Linked DNA regions of Homo sapiens: region 2 is linked to region 1. The links are contacts of gene promoters, found by promoter capture Hi-C in blood cells and fetal thymus (Javierre and others, 2016). All regions are on one chromosome and are shown on one strand. Each heading gives the region's core, a stretch centred on a gene start or on the middle of the fragment in contact. The rest is flanking DNA. Distances are from core to core; before and after follow the strand shown.

Region 1 (6,758 bases), core at 1,538-4,037:
CCAAGTATATATTTCTTCTTATCACATGACTGCCGTAGGACTCTCACACTTTATGGTTTCTCAACCTAGGCTACTTCTCTGAAATCTGAATCATTCAGGTCTCTACTCAAATCCTACCTTCCAAGAGAAATCATTCCCTGACCACCTACTTAAAACAGCATCTTCCTCTCCACCCATGTCAATCCCTATCTTATTCCCTTATTCTGCTTTCTTTTCTTTTCTTTTTTTTTGAGACAGGATCTTGCTTTATCACTCAGGCTGAAGTGCAGTGGTGGGATCACAACTCACTGTAGCCTCAAACTCCTGGGCTCAAGCCATCCTCCTGCCTCAGCCTCCCGAGTAGCTGGTTCGACAGGCACACACCATTATGCCCAGCTAATTTTTCTTTTTTTTTTGTATAAACGATGTCTTGATATGCTGCCAGGCTGGTCTTGAACTCCTGGACCCAAACTGCTTTATTTTCTTCATAGTACTTACTAGTACCTGAAATAAAGCTATTGAAGGAAACTAAAACATTTCACCTCAAAACAGACTTATTGGAAATATTTTGAGATGGCCGTTCAGAGGGCCTACAGACAAAAGTAGTCCTACTGTGAGGGAGATGAGCATCTGTTGAGAACCTCCATTGACGCAGCCAGTTTTTCTCAGAGGGCCCTTCCTTGTCTGGATCTGGGTGAGATTAGCTGAATTTGGCACCTTCAAGGTCTGAAACATTTCTTCTCCCTGAGGGCTGCTACCTGTGAGGTTTCATCTACATAAGACCACCTTTGCTAGCCAGGTCTCCTCTTCTCTCCCTCCTATAACCTGATTTACAACCATAACCTGTTTTTGGCCAAGCTTAGAGCCCCCACACTTTCTGTAACCTCAGGATAGTATAATTGTGGCAACCACCTTGCCTTCCTTTGAGATCTTATGTTGTAAGACTCTCACGGCACGTTAGTAAATGTGTATGCCTTCTCTCCTATTAATCTGCCATTTGTCAGTTGATTTTTCAGTGACGCTTCACGGGGCACAAAAGTTTTCCCTTAACTCCTACGCTATACATTTGTTTATCCCTTTTTTTTTCCTATCTCCAACTAGGATGTAAATTCATGAGGGCAAGGTCTCGGTCCTACCTAAATCCCCAGTGTCTAAAACTTTGAGTACTATGTGTTTGAGCACATAGTACACACAAAAAAATTTGTTGAATAAATGTTGATAACAAGATATAATACCTACATCAAAGGGTTTTTGTGAGGATTAAACGCGAGAGTGCACATAGAGGGATATGAGTGCCTAACACAATGCCCAGCACACAGTAAGCTCAATAACGCTGGTCAACGCTATTATCAGAGGATTCCAGAAGACAGGTCAACATGGGCAGGAGCAGTTACAGAACGTTTCAAGGAGGTGGCAGGTCTTGAGCTTGATTTGGAAGGATAATGATTTCTTTCTCTAGGTGGGGACACTGTAGGAAGTTGAAATCTCCTCTGTACAAGCCACCCCTCCCAACATTTCTTCATACTCCTATCAAATGCATAGTCATCATACCCTACAAACCACCTACTAACCAGCCTCTCTCTGTCTGTCCACTAATCCGTTAGTTTTCATTTCTGTATCACCGGAGCCTAGATGAATTCACTACTAAAGGGCACCCAGCAACGTCAGTGAATTAGTTTCAGAAATCTGTGGAAAAGAAACAGCCTACTGTTCTGTCCAGCAATCCAGGCCTAAGTATCTATCCTAAAGAAATAGTGTCAGCATTAAAAATCATGTACAAAGATGTTCACTTGCAAGAGAGAGAGAAAAAAAGTAGCAAACAGAACGTCCACCACTAGGAAACCATGAATAAACTATGATGCGTCCAAACTGTGCAGAGGTTGCACTGAATTAGACAGTTAGTGAAACAATCTCTAAGATATATCGTTAAACTGAAAAAAGAGAATGCACATACAGTGATCTCATTTAGGTAAAACAAAAATTTTAACACCTCATACAAATGAAACCTAAAGATTTCTCTGAATGTGTGCATATTACATATAGATACATGTCTTGTTAACCACTGTATCAACTCAACACTGTGTGCCTGAAACATAGAAAGTTCTCAATAAATATTTGCCGAATGAAGACATATGTACGTGAATAGAAAAAGACTGAAAAATAGATCTGCTTTTTGTGCAAAATATTTCTGTGCTGTTTCCATTTTTAAAAGACTGTCTTAATGTATTACTTGTACAATTAAAATGAATTTAAAACAGTTATAAAAGTTCCAGGACCTCGATATACCATATCTGGTCCAAGCACCAGGCTCTGAGTAACTTCTCCAGGTAACTAACTTCATCGTTTTGAGCCATTAGGGCTCTAGCACAGCAACTCGACGCTCACTTTATCTCTCCAGCATCAGACCCCTTAAAAGCATAAAGATGAATTTTGAGGTGCGGGGTTTTCCATTGCTCCCAAACATCAGTTGACGGCACACTTTTTCTAAAGGGTCCTTTTCTCCCACGCCAAGACATCCCTGGAGCTGGGGTCTGGCTCGGCCTTCCCTGCGCACCCCCTGGGGGCGAGTAAGCGCCGAACGCGGGGAGGAAAATCCTCCTGGTGGGAGTGAGCACGCTGCGCGGACGCGGGGGAACAAAACTCACTTTCCGACTGGCCCCTTCTCTGGCTGTGATCTGTCTCTCCTGCTCAGGCATCGTCCCGCACGGACACCGAATTCTTCTCTGATCTGGCTCAGAGCAAAAGGTCACCTGGTCGGTGGAGGAGAGCGGGGTGTTAAAGTCCCGGGAGAGGAGGCGCAGAGTGTGAGGGCATCGGCGCGGCTCGGCTCTAAAGCAAACAGGGGTCCGGGAACCGCCCCTTCATTTGGGACCGGGGAAGCCGCAGCCCTCTTCACACGGATGATTCAAAGTTGCGCGCCGCCGTCCTCCCGACCTGGGGGCACGGGGATGAGAGCGTGAGGGGAGAGTGGGCCTCGGACCCTCGCCCACTCCCCAGGTGGCTGGGAGTGCCCACCCTGGAACTGCCGGCCCCGCCGGTGCCACAGTGTTCTCTGCCGTGCCAGTGCCACAATGTCCTCTGCCGTGCCGGCGCCGCAGGGCGGAGGCCTGTCCTCCTCCGCGGTCTCGGCCACCTCGCGCTGGTGCGCTCCGACACTGTACTGGGATCTCACGCGTGTGCGGGAGCGGGAGGGCAGGTGAGCTGCGCAGAGCCGGGCCGCAGACTCAGCTCCCAGGGCTCACCCACCGCCTGCGGGGAAGGTGCCCGGCGGCGCCGCGTCGGGTCCGCTCTGCGCTGCCCCCTCCTCGGACTCTGCGCCTGGCTGCCGGACGCCGTGGGTCCCAAAGGAAGCAACCGCGGCAAGAGTGAACTCCGCACCTGGAAAATCGATCCGCTGTGCGCAAAGGCCAGCCAATGGCCTCCAACGGGCGGCGGGCTTTGGGCCGGGAACGGGGGCGCAGGCGCCCAGGCGGGGGCTTCTAGTGGGGGAGGTGGCCGAGGGAGGGAGCGACGGCTGTCAATCACAGGCCACGCCCTCCTCAGCCCAACCCCCCACTGCTGTCCCGCCCACGGGGGCGGGAGCCGTGTGCGCCACGCCGAACACTAGTCTACGCCTCGGCATATTCTATTGGCTGGAAGGCCGTGGGAAGCGGCTACCAGTAACCAATAGTAACGCACAATTGGCCCGTGGGGGCGGGGCGAGCACGGCTTGCTTTCTCAGGAGCCAATAGGGAAAAGGAAAGTGAAGCGTTTCCTGAGTTCGGGGGTCGGCGGAAGATGGCGGCCGGCGAAAGGAGCTGGTGCCTGTGCAAGTTGTTGAGGTGAGCAGCCGGTCGTGTGGGCTCACAGACGTTTTCTCTTCTGTAGGGGTACTTGCCCGTCCAGTGTAGCTAAATTTTGCGGGCAAATGGCCTTCCTTGTCATGAATCTAAGGTAATTTCTCAGGCCAATGAGCAGTCTTTCTTTTTCTTGGGGGTCTTCTATATAGACTGGAATAGACTAGGTCTTAAAGACTCAATTTACCGCGTTTTCTTCTGCTTCACTGTTGGCCGAGGGGTCGAGTTCCCTTCCCTGCTTCAGCTTTTTTTTTCCCTTTCACACTCCAGTTAGTCTGTCATAAATTATTCATATTCATTCCTTATTTTTCTTTACGATTGAGCCACGAGACATTTTCCAATCTATCATGTCTCTTTTCGGTAAAGAAGAAACCGGATCTTCCTTCTCATCTTAGTTTCTACTCTTAAACTCACCAAAACTGCCATTGTTAACACGTCACTTAAATATAAAGCTTATGTTGAATCCTCTGCTTTTTGATAATCTGTTACTTTAATTTTTATGATGTAAGAAGTTACATAAAATATTATTTTATTTGTATTACGTGTATATGCTGTTTCTTCTAGAAAAATTAGAAAATAGATAAGTAAAAGGAAAAAACCCCAGGAATGCTACCATCCGGAGATAGCCACTGTTAACATTTTGGTGAAAAAACTCCCAGGCTTTTTTCCACCTTTGTTGTTGTAGTACTACTGTATTTTAAATGCCTTGCCCTCCACTAATAAAACAGAAGGCCTAGTATATTCTACCTACCTAGTTTTTTTACCACCTACATATTTTTGTTCAGGCTGAAAATTTATAATTAACACCATAGCTTCCTGAATAGCAGTATATACCTAATTCTTTCAAAAGTTCAGGCATTTCTTCTTCGTTTTTGTCCACTCTACTTCAAATTCTGTAATCATTACTTTAAACATTTTGAATGAGAAAGTCTGTTATCAGAGCCTTTTGGTTCTTCCCTGTCATACGTAATATTCCTCAGTGCTTTACATTATAATGTTTAAATAAACTCACTAACCAGACTTAAAGGACAGGTTTAACTTTAGTTATTATGCAGCTTTTAAGTTAAATGTTTAATAGTTCAGTTTGAAAAGCTTGTCACATGAATTTTCCCACCTAAATTATTTGAAGGAATTGCCAGAAAAACCTTTACATTATATGGGTCAGCTGCATTTTAAATAAGCTTTTGAAAGAGTGTCCTGAGAAAGCAAACTGTCCTCTGTAGTGTTGCTTTTATGAATTCATATATTCCAAATGTTAAATAAATGATAAATCTTACCACTTTTGTCAGACTCTGTTCATCCTTTAAGGCAGTGGTTCTCAAATTGTGCTCCATGGACCATGCAGGTCCCAAGGCCCTTCAATGGATCCTCAACAAATCTGTTTTTATAATAACATTAATGTAATATTTGCCTATTTTACTATGTTGATAAGTGCAAAAGTGATAGCGGATAAAACTAAGTGATAGTGGATTTTAATTAACAGTGTGAAAAGGTCATTGATAGGGTTTCAGAGTCTGTATTGCAACTGACATTAAGAAACTGCATAACTTGTCAAATGTGGTCTAGCATCAGAGAAGAATATCTGTAACTAGCTGAAAAGTTAAATATATTTTAAACATAAGATCAATATATATTAAAATATACTCCCTTTTCCTACTACATGTCTAAGTTAGCCTGAATTTTCTTCATATACTTCAACAAAAACAACATATCACTAGATTGAATGCAGAAACAGAAAGGAGGAGCCACTATCTGGTTTCACGTTAAGCCAGACATTAAAAAGATTTGCAAAAAGTGTAAATCATTGGCACCCTTCTTGCTAAATTTCTTTTTTTGGTTTGGAAAAGATAGTTTTTTAATAAAAATATGTTAATGTGTTATGAAAGAATTTTTATTTTCAAATGAATTCATAAAAAGTTTAAAGTTCTTTAGTTTTCATTTCTAATATGCTAAATATTGGTAGATATAAGCAGTGTAAACCACTGGTTCTCAACCAGGGGTGATTTTTGCCCTTCGCAAGACATTTGGCATTTGGCAATATCTGGAGGGCTTTTTTTTTTTAATTTTTTTTTTAGAGATAAGAGTCTTGCTCTGTTGCCCAGGCTGGAGTGCAGTGGCATGATCATAGCTTACTACAGCCTTGAACTCCTGGGCTCAAGCAATCCTCCCACCTCAGCCTCCCAAAATGTTGGGATTACAGGCATGAGCCACCATGCCCAACTGATAATTTTGATTGGGAGGGTGCTACTGGCATCTAAGTGGGTCAAGACCAAAGATGCTACTAAATATAATACATAGGACAACCTCCGCAACAAATAATTATTTGGTCCAAAATGTCAGTAGTGTCAAGGATGAGAAACTCTGATGTAAACAAAAGCTCTATTGTATCCTCAGTAAAATTTTTAAGAGTATAAAGGTGTATAAAGAATATAAAGACCAAATTATTTTAGACCAATTATTTCAGCTTTGAAATAAAGTGCTCATGTGGGATTTCAAATAGAGTCAAATACCTCTTCAAGTACACAGTAGGAAATCCCACATGAGATTTGTTCACAATAGGAACAAATGAGGATTTGTTCACAATAGGAAATCCCACATGAGAACTTTATGTCAAAACTAAATATCAATAAAATATTTACTTCTGGCCAGGTGCAGCAGCTCATGCCTGTAATCTCAATGCTTTGGAAGGCCAAGGCAGGAGGATTACTTGAGGCCAAGAGTTTGAGACCAGCCTGGGCAACATAGCAAAACCCTATTTCTACAAAAAACATTTTTTTAATTAGCTGGGTGTGGTGGCATGCACCTGTAGTTCCAGCTTCTCAGGAGTCTGAGGCAGGAGGATCGCTTGAGCCAAGGAGTTTGGGGCTGCAGTGATTGCTATGATTGCACCACTGCACTTCAGCCTGGGTGACAGAGTGAGACCCTGTATCTAAAAAAAGCAAA
Region 2 (6,758 bases), core at 1,429-3,928, 3.0 Mb before region 1:
TTGTAGCCTACTAATCTTGCTTTCTAATCACACCAGTTAGTGGGAAGAAGGGATGATGACAGGAGAAACATCTTGTTAAAATTTTAATATTAAATCTTATATTTAAATTTTTTAGCACTACTACATTAAATTTTACTATATTGTCTTGTTTCATTTCATAGATCATCTGTTAGTTTTCTATGTGTAGGTTAACTGGAAAATTTTTTATCCCAGGCTGGCTACCGTTAGCCACCTGTATGCTTCTGAATTAACTCCCTCTTTTTCCCTTTTGTCTGAATCCTCCAAATCATTGAATGCTCCGGAAAAATAAAATCCTGGTTAACACTGTCAAGCATAGTTATAAGGGTAATTAATTTATCCCAAATTAATAATAAGCATTAAAAAAAACATTCTAGGATTATCTTCTTTTGGTGACGTCTGTGTCTTCACTTCCTCTATCTGTGTGAGTAATTGAGACCTGATTTATTTTAACACACATGTAATGATTACTCTTTACTAGTCACATTTCTACAATATAATAGTAAGCATATTTTATTACTAATTTAAAAATTTCTCCCTCTTCCCTGACCAGCCAGACATAGCTAAGGGCTGAGACATCCTTAACCCCCCGAAAAAAAGAGGGAATGCATGATTCATATTCTCATTGTCTTTTGTAGTTTTAGGCAAAGAGCATTTAATTTATACTTTATCAATTTTTAGTAATATTTGCGCTGTTTTAAAACATTTGCATTTTTTAAGATGTTCATGACATCCAAGGCTTGTGTATTTTATAATCTGCCAGTATTTTTAAAATACAATTTGATGAAGTAACCAAAAACGTTTTTTTTTTGAAACATTGTTGGTGCATTTTTGAATGAAAATGAATCTAGATCGTGTCTTTGAGAATGGTGTAGGGATATGCACATGATTTCCAATTTTATTAGCCAGATAACTAAGTGATTAGTGTTTCTGGTTTTTTTTTGTTTGCTTTTGTTTTTTTTGTTTTGTTTTTAGCATTGCCTAGCGGACTTCAAATAAACTCACAATATTGTAATTCCGAAGGTTTAGAATATGGTGCATATTTATTCCATTGAGCCTTTTACTGCTTCAGTTTATCACATTGCAAAACAAGAAATATGGCTCCCATATGTGTGAATGTCAAAAACTACTTGTTAAAACGAAATTAGTGGCCATTAATGTTGAAAGGCAAATTTTGTACTTTTACATGTATTGTGAGCTTTTATAATTTTCTTAATATTTTGGTCTTATTTCAGATAATTATTCAGTGGTCTCTTTTTATATCTTTATTCTTACCTTTCTGTCTTCCCACTGTTGTGGTTTTGCTTGTCTTTAATATATACTTTCAAGTTTTCTGTGTAACCTGTGGTCTTCCATCAAGTTCCTTTGTGGGTGTCATCTTTCAATGTTTCCAATCACTTATCACCCATTACCAGTCCTTGGGCTATTTTTTCCTCCAAGATTGAGAACTACACCTGGGAGATGTCATGTGCTTGCAGGGTGATGCAATGTTATTAAAGTGGGGATACAAACATAGTGTGATGTCTTCCTTCCTTCAAGTAGTTTACAAATTAGTTGGGGGTACTAGACTAATAGTATCATTAGCAAAAATTATAATATGGTATTATTAAGTTGTGTGACACCAACTGGAATTTAAAGGGAAGTGAAGCCAGTGAGAGCTAGAACAATCCTGGAAGGCATTTGGAGGGAGTCAGAGGAAACTTAGAAATGATTTAGATAACAAAAGGAAAGGCATTCCAAAAGAGATTCACAGGCAGAGTTGGAAGTAGTAGTAGAATAAGTAGTCCAAGAGCATCCAAGGACAGAAATTGGGACGAAGAAAGAAAGAAAGTTAGGTCGAGATGTTAGCTTAAGCACCAGGGCATCAGAAGAGGAAAATAGGCAGAGCTGGACAAGACAGTTTGTATCATTAGGAACCTATCACTGAAAGAACTATACCTCAGCTTTGACATATTAATAGCTTAAGCTTTATGTATAATGGATAGCTTATATGTGTTTGTTTGTATGGCTTAGGTCAGGGGTCGGCCAACTTTTTGTGTAGAGTGCTAGATAATTAAATATTTTAGGTTTTGCAGGCCATTTACAGTCTCGGTTGAATGTTCTTGTTTGTTTGTTAGTTTTTTATAATCTTTTAAAAACGTAAAAATTTTTACATTGTTGTCTCAAGAGCCAAACAAAAACAAGCCATCTGTGGACTGGATTTGGCCAGGGGACCTAGTTTGCTGACTGCTAGGTAATAATTGGCAAAGTAATTGTCCATATAGCACATACTGTGAAATTTCTTGCATCATCTTGTCTATATGGTGGTTTGGGCGTTTTATGACTATCATGTATATATTTTTCCTTATGTTATCCTAAAAAAAAAGTATGTAGAAATAAGTGCTTCTGTAATTGTTATTTTGTGGCCAGACTTCTAACAAGAGCCTAGAATAGGTCTCAGAATTAGGAAGTGAAAGACGAAAAGCCTTTGAGTCAGGCCTTACTACAGTGAAAATAGCTACACAGTGGCTTGATTTAGAATTTGTATAAGGTTAGGTGTATCAACTGCCTGTGCTGGTTTTACATTTTTAAAAACAGCTGGCAGGTTAAAAACCTTGTCTAGGATGCTGGTGGTCTGTAAGTGACAACAGAGGAGCAGGCAGTAGGGATCTTTGTTTTTAGAAGTAGTCTAGGATGAGTTAATAAAGGGACAAGCAGTTGGACATTCTGCAGTACTCCAGAAAGAATCACTCTGTTATGGAACAGTCTAATAATTGATATTTACATTGATGAGCTTGAGTCATCAAGAAAAGATTATATCATGTGCACATTAAGGCACGGAAGAAAGACCTAGAGATCTCTTTACAAATAATTAAGATTTTTTTAAGATAAGTTATGGTGATTTAAAGGATATAAGTATCAGCTGTTTTGAAAAGTAATTTACATGAAACATCTCTGAAGTTTCTAAATTTATAGATATCTATTTCTAAGGCAGTTCTGTTTCCTTCAGTATACTGTGGTTCATGTGCCATTACCAGGTGAATAGTGATGCCTCACGCTGTGGCTGCACAAATCAATTGGCTGGGGCAACTGTATTTTTTGTGGCATCAAGAGAGCAAGAATACATCATGAGAGCATTTTTTCATTAAGCAGGCATCAGTACATTCCATATATCAGGGTTAGTATTAGGTGCTGGAAAAAGTACAGATGTATAAGATGGGAAGCAACCTGGACAGAATCAGTGATGCTTCTTTCTTCCTGTTAAAAACATTAAAACCAACCAAACAAAATCATGAAACTTAACTTTTGTACTTTAATTTATTATTAGCATTTTTCATACTTAGTACATACAGTACCGTAATTTTAAGGCAATATAAAGCTTTTGATTTAAATAACAGCCTTCATAAATTGCTACTTAATACAATTTTTACTTTTTAAATTTTAGTTTAAGGAGAAATTCATGCCCTCCCTCTTTTTTTGTGAATGCTTGAAACAGCTTCACCATGCCAGCTGTTTCCATTTGCTAAACAAGAGGTAAATTAAAGTACCTTGGATGGTGACTCAAAAGTCTAGTTCTTAGTTCTAACTTCACCACTTATTACCTATATGATTTTGGGTTAGTTTCTTGCAATCTTGGTTTTCTAAGCATTAAAATAGAGAATAATATCTATCCTGTTTTCCTCAAAGATATTGTGAGAACCCACAGAGATGTTGGAAACTATAAAAGCATTAAAATACATACCATAAAAGTGCTTACATTAATGCTACTATATTGGAAGCAATGCAGCCTTTTTTTTTTTTTAAGACCAGAGTTCAAGCTTTATCCTCCAAAGTTCTGTAAACATAGTATGTTTCCAGTAAACATTCAGTTGAGCTCATTGAATTTTAGAACCTATACTTGCTTATTTTTAAAATCCTATACAAACCTGCCAGATATGTGGTGGTATTCTCATTTTACAGATGAACTATACTTCTGATTGACTTCCATATCTCTTTCTCCTTCACTTCTTGAGATCTCTTATGTGCTAGTTGCTAGAAATACAAAGTGCAATGTATACTTTGAAGTAAGCCTTGGTGTAAAAGTTACCTAAGTTTGGTAAATTAGATTGTGTATGTTAATCAGCCTCTATCAGAAATGCTGGGGGAAAAAAAAGTGTTGTATCTGTTTTCTTTCCTCAGAATCCATATTTTAATATATATTTGAACTTTTAAAAACTTAAATGATTTCGCTTCACTACTTCTTCAGTGAGGGATTACTTTAATTGGTTTATGTATATTCTAAACCGACAGACACATAATTTGGGAGGCAAAAAAATCTTACTTCTCTAGGGGTTCTAAACAGATATTTAAGTACACTTTAAATCACAGTTTAGACTTTTATTAGAAAGTAATTACGTGCTTTGCTTTATAGAAGTATATGCCATATACAGCAACTACTTTTGTTGAGCCATAACTTGAAGGATTAGTCATTTCATTTACTTTAAAATCAGTTTTTCTTAAGATTTGCTTAAATAAAAAGTGAAAATTCATAATTTGCGATTTTATGTTTAAATTTTCTAAATTTTTTTTGTTTTCTTAAGACAGACATTCTCAATTATGTCTTTGTTCTTATGACTTGATTTTTTTCCATGTAATATTTTCATTTGTAATATATACCTAAAAAAAATTTTTAGCATAGTACCTTCATAGTTTATGAAGTACCTTTTTGTTTCTTTAGTAACTATTAGGATCAGCTTTTCCTGATGCTTCAGATTGGTATTCCTGAAATAGTATGTTCGCATTTTTGTTTTAATCACTTGAACCTTACTAAAACTGGCCTAGTGTGTGTGACAGAGTAGCCTTTGGGTAAAATGTAGGGGCTACTGCCCCTCTAACCATCTTTTAGGCTGCTTCCAGGATATTTAAAAAACATGAATTTATTCAGATCATTCCCCAGTTTTAGAAATCGAAATCACAATACAATTCCTGCTGCATTAATTATAATTTCCTTTGTCTTTGAGAGTCCATACTCTGTTGATATCCTATTGTGTCATCATTTCTTACCTCTTTACAACTTTGTGATATAGTGTAGAGAACATATTTCTCATTAGGCAGCCACAGGATTGTTAGTTGACTTCTCATACTGGCTGTATAGAAACATGAGTGTGCTACTTTACCTGTATGAGCCTTGGTTCGTTCATTTTACAGTGTAGTAATAATAGTAGCTATCTCCTAATATAGACTGTACAAGAATTAAAAGATCCTATTTAACATGACAAGTAAAATGCTTGCCATAGGATATTTATATCTAGAACTTTGACAGACATACCTAATCATTGTCACTCAGGCATCCTGCATATCATTCATTTATTCATTTGCCTATCATTTGTTGAACATTTAAAATGTCCTAGATACTTAGAATATGAATGTTGAATGTCACAAAAATGAATGTCACACTCCCTCCCCTTTAGAAATTTACAGAATGGGATGAGAGATAATGATATGTAAATAAATACATATTTTTAAATAATTAAAATATCTTGTGTCTTTTCACTTGTGTGAGTCCTTCCTGTCTTTTAATATTTAAATGCAAAATGTTTCCATAATACCCACAGAATATCTGGGTTGTATATATCATACTGTAATGTATATATATTTTTTACTTGTCTAAATCAGCTATTCAACTATGAACTCCTTGAGTTTGACCAGTACTACTGGAGTCAGCAACTTTTTTAATATAAGAGAAGGTAGTAAATATTTTAGGCATTGTGGACCATATGGGCTCAGTTGCAACTACTTAAACTGTGCTACAGGAGCACAAAAACAGCCATAGATAAATTATAAACAATGGGCATGACTGTGTTCCTATTAAACTTCATTTACGAAACTAGGCAGCAGACCAGATTTGGCCCACAGGCTTTAGTTTGCCAACCTCTGCAATGGTGCATGCATATACTTTTATTTGTGCTTGACAAATAAAAGGCACTTAGTAAATAATATGATTAATAGGCATTAAACACTTTCTGTATTCTGGGTGCTATTGCAAAAAACTTTATATGTATCAGTTTACTTAAGCCTTAAAACATCTCTCTGCGGTAGATACTATTATCACCAAATGTCATAGAGTAATAATAGAAGCACTTTCATTAATAGATAGGAACACAACATTGGTTCAAAAGTCTTAGGCAATACATTAAGAACAAGAAAAATAATTAACCTGTAAATAAAGGGGGGAAATGTATCACTATTATTTAGAGTTGATATGACTGCTTACAAATACAAATAAATATAATACAAATACAAATAGCAAAAAAATATGAGATAACAGAAAAAGATTTGTATTAAAAAATTTCAGTAAGCTGATTGGCTATAAGATAAAGTTAGAAAATTCATTAGCCTTCTTATATATCAACAATAACCAACTATGAAATACAGTAATAAGAAGTAGCAGCCTAAACTATAAAATACTTAAGATTTTAAAATGTGTAATAGCTATGTGAAGAAAACTGCAAAAAGATGTGAATGGATGGAGGAGTATTCATGAATGTGTCAACTTAATGCCATAAAAATGACAGCTTTTACTAAATTATTCTATAAAGTCAATGCAGTTCTAATCAGAAATTCAACAGGAGTTTTAAAATGGAATTTGACAAACTGATGGTTCAAGTTTTGAGAAGGGAGCATGCACAAGAATGGCCAAGTAAATTTCAAAAAGAAGTATAATAAATGGGACCCATCAAAGGTCGAAACATTATAAAATTACAATTATTAAAATAAGAATT

The links. The method cuts DNA at HindIII sites, captures the fragments that hold promoters and counts their contacts. A CHiCAGO score of 5 or more calls a contact.
Region 2: a contact is called between a fragment that was not itself captured here and the fragment with the promoter of ATP7B in region 1, in 1 of 17 cell types (fetal thymus). The highest score is 6.5, in fetal thymus.

The regions. Positions count from the first base shown.
Region 1 is chr13:52,008,663-52,015,420 of GRCh38, forward strand. ATP7B (ATPase copper transporting beta) reads right to left here and starts at 2,788. Exons shown (of 21, transcript NM_000053.4): 1 at 2,625-2,788. The coding sequence starts at 2,675. ALG11 (ALG11 alpha-1,2-mannosyltransferase) reads left to right here and starts at 3,736. Exons shown (of 4, transcript NM_001004127.3): 1 at 3,736-3,800. The coding sequence starts at 3,757. RefSeq lists silencers at 2,995-3,334, 3,385-3,494, 3,505-3,604 and enhancers at 3,725-3,854, 3,905-3,994. The HindIII fragment of the contact is 3,430 bases long and covers 836-4,265 here.
Region 2 is chr13:48,977,695-48,984,452 of GRCh38, forward strand. All of the region lies in intron 1 of FNDC3A (fibronectin type III domain containing 3A), which reads left to right. Among named protein-coding and RNA genes, the nearest start is that of FNDC3A, 5.2 kb to the left of the region's middle. The HindIII fragment of the contact is 1,392 bases long and covers 1,983-3,374 here.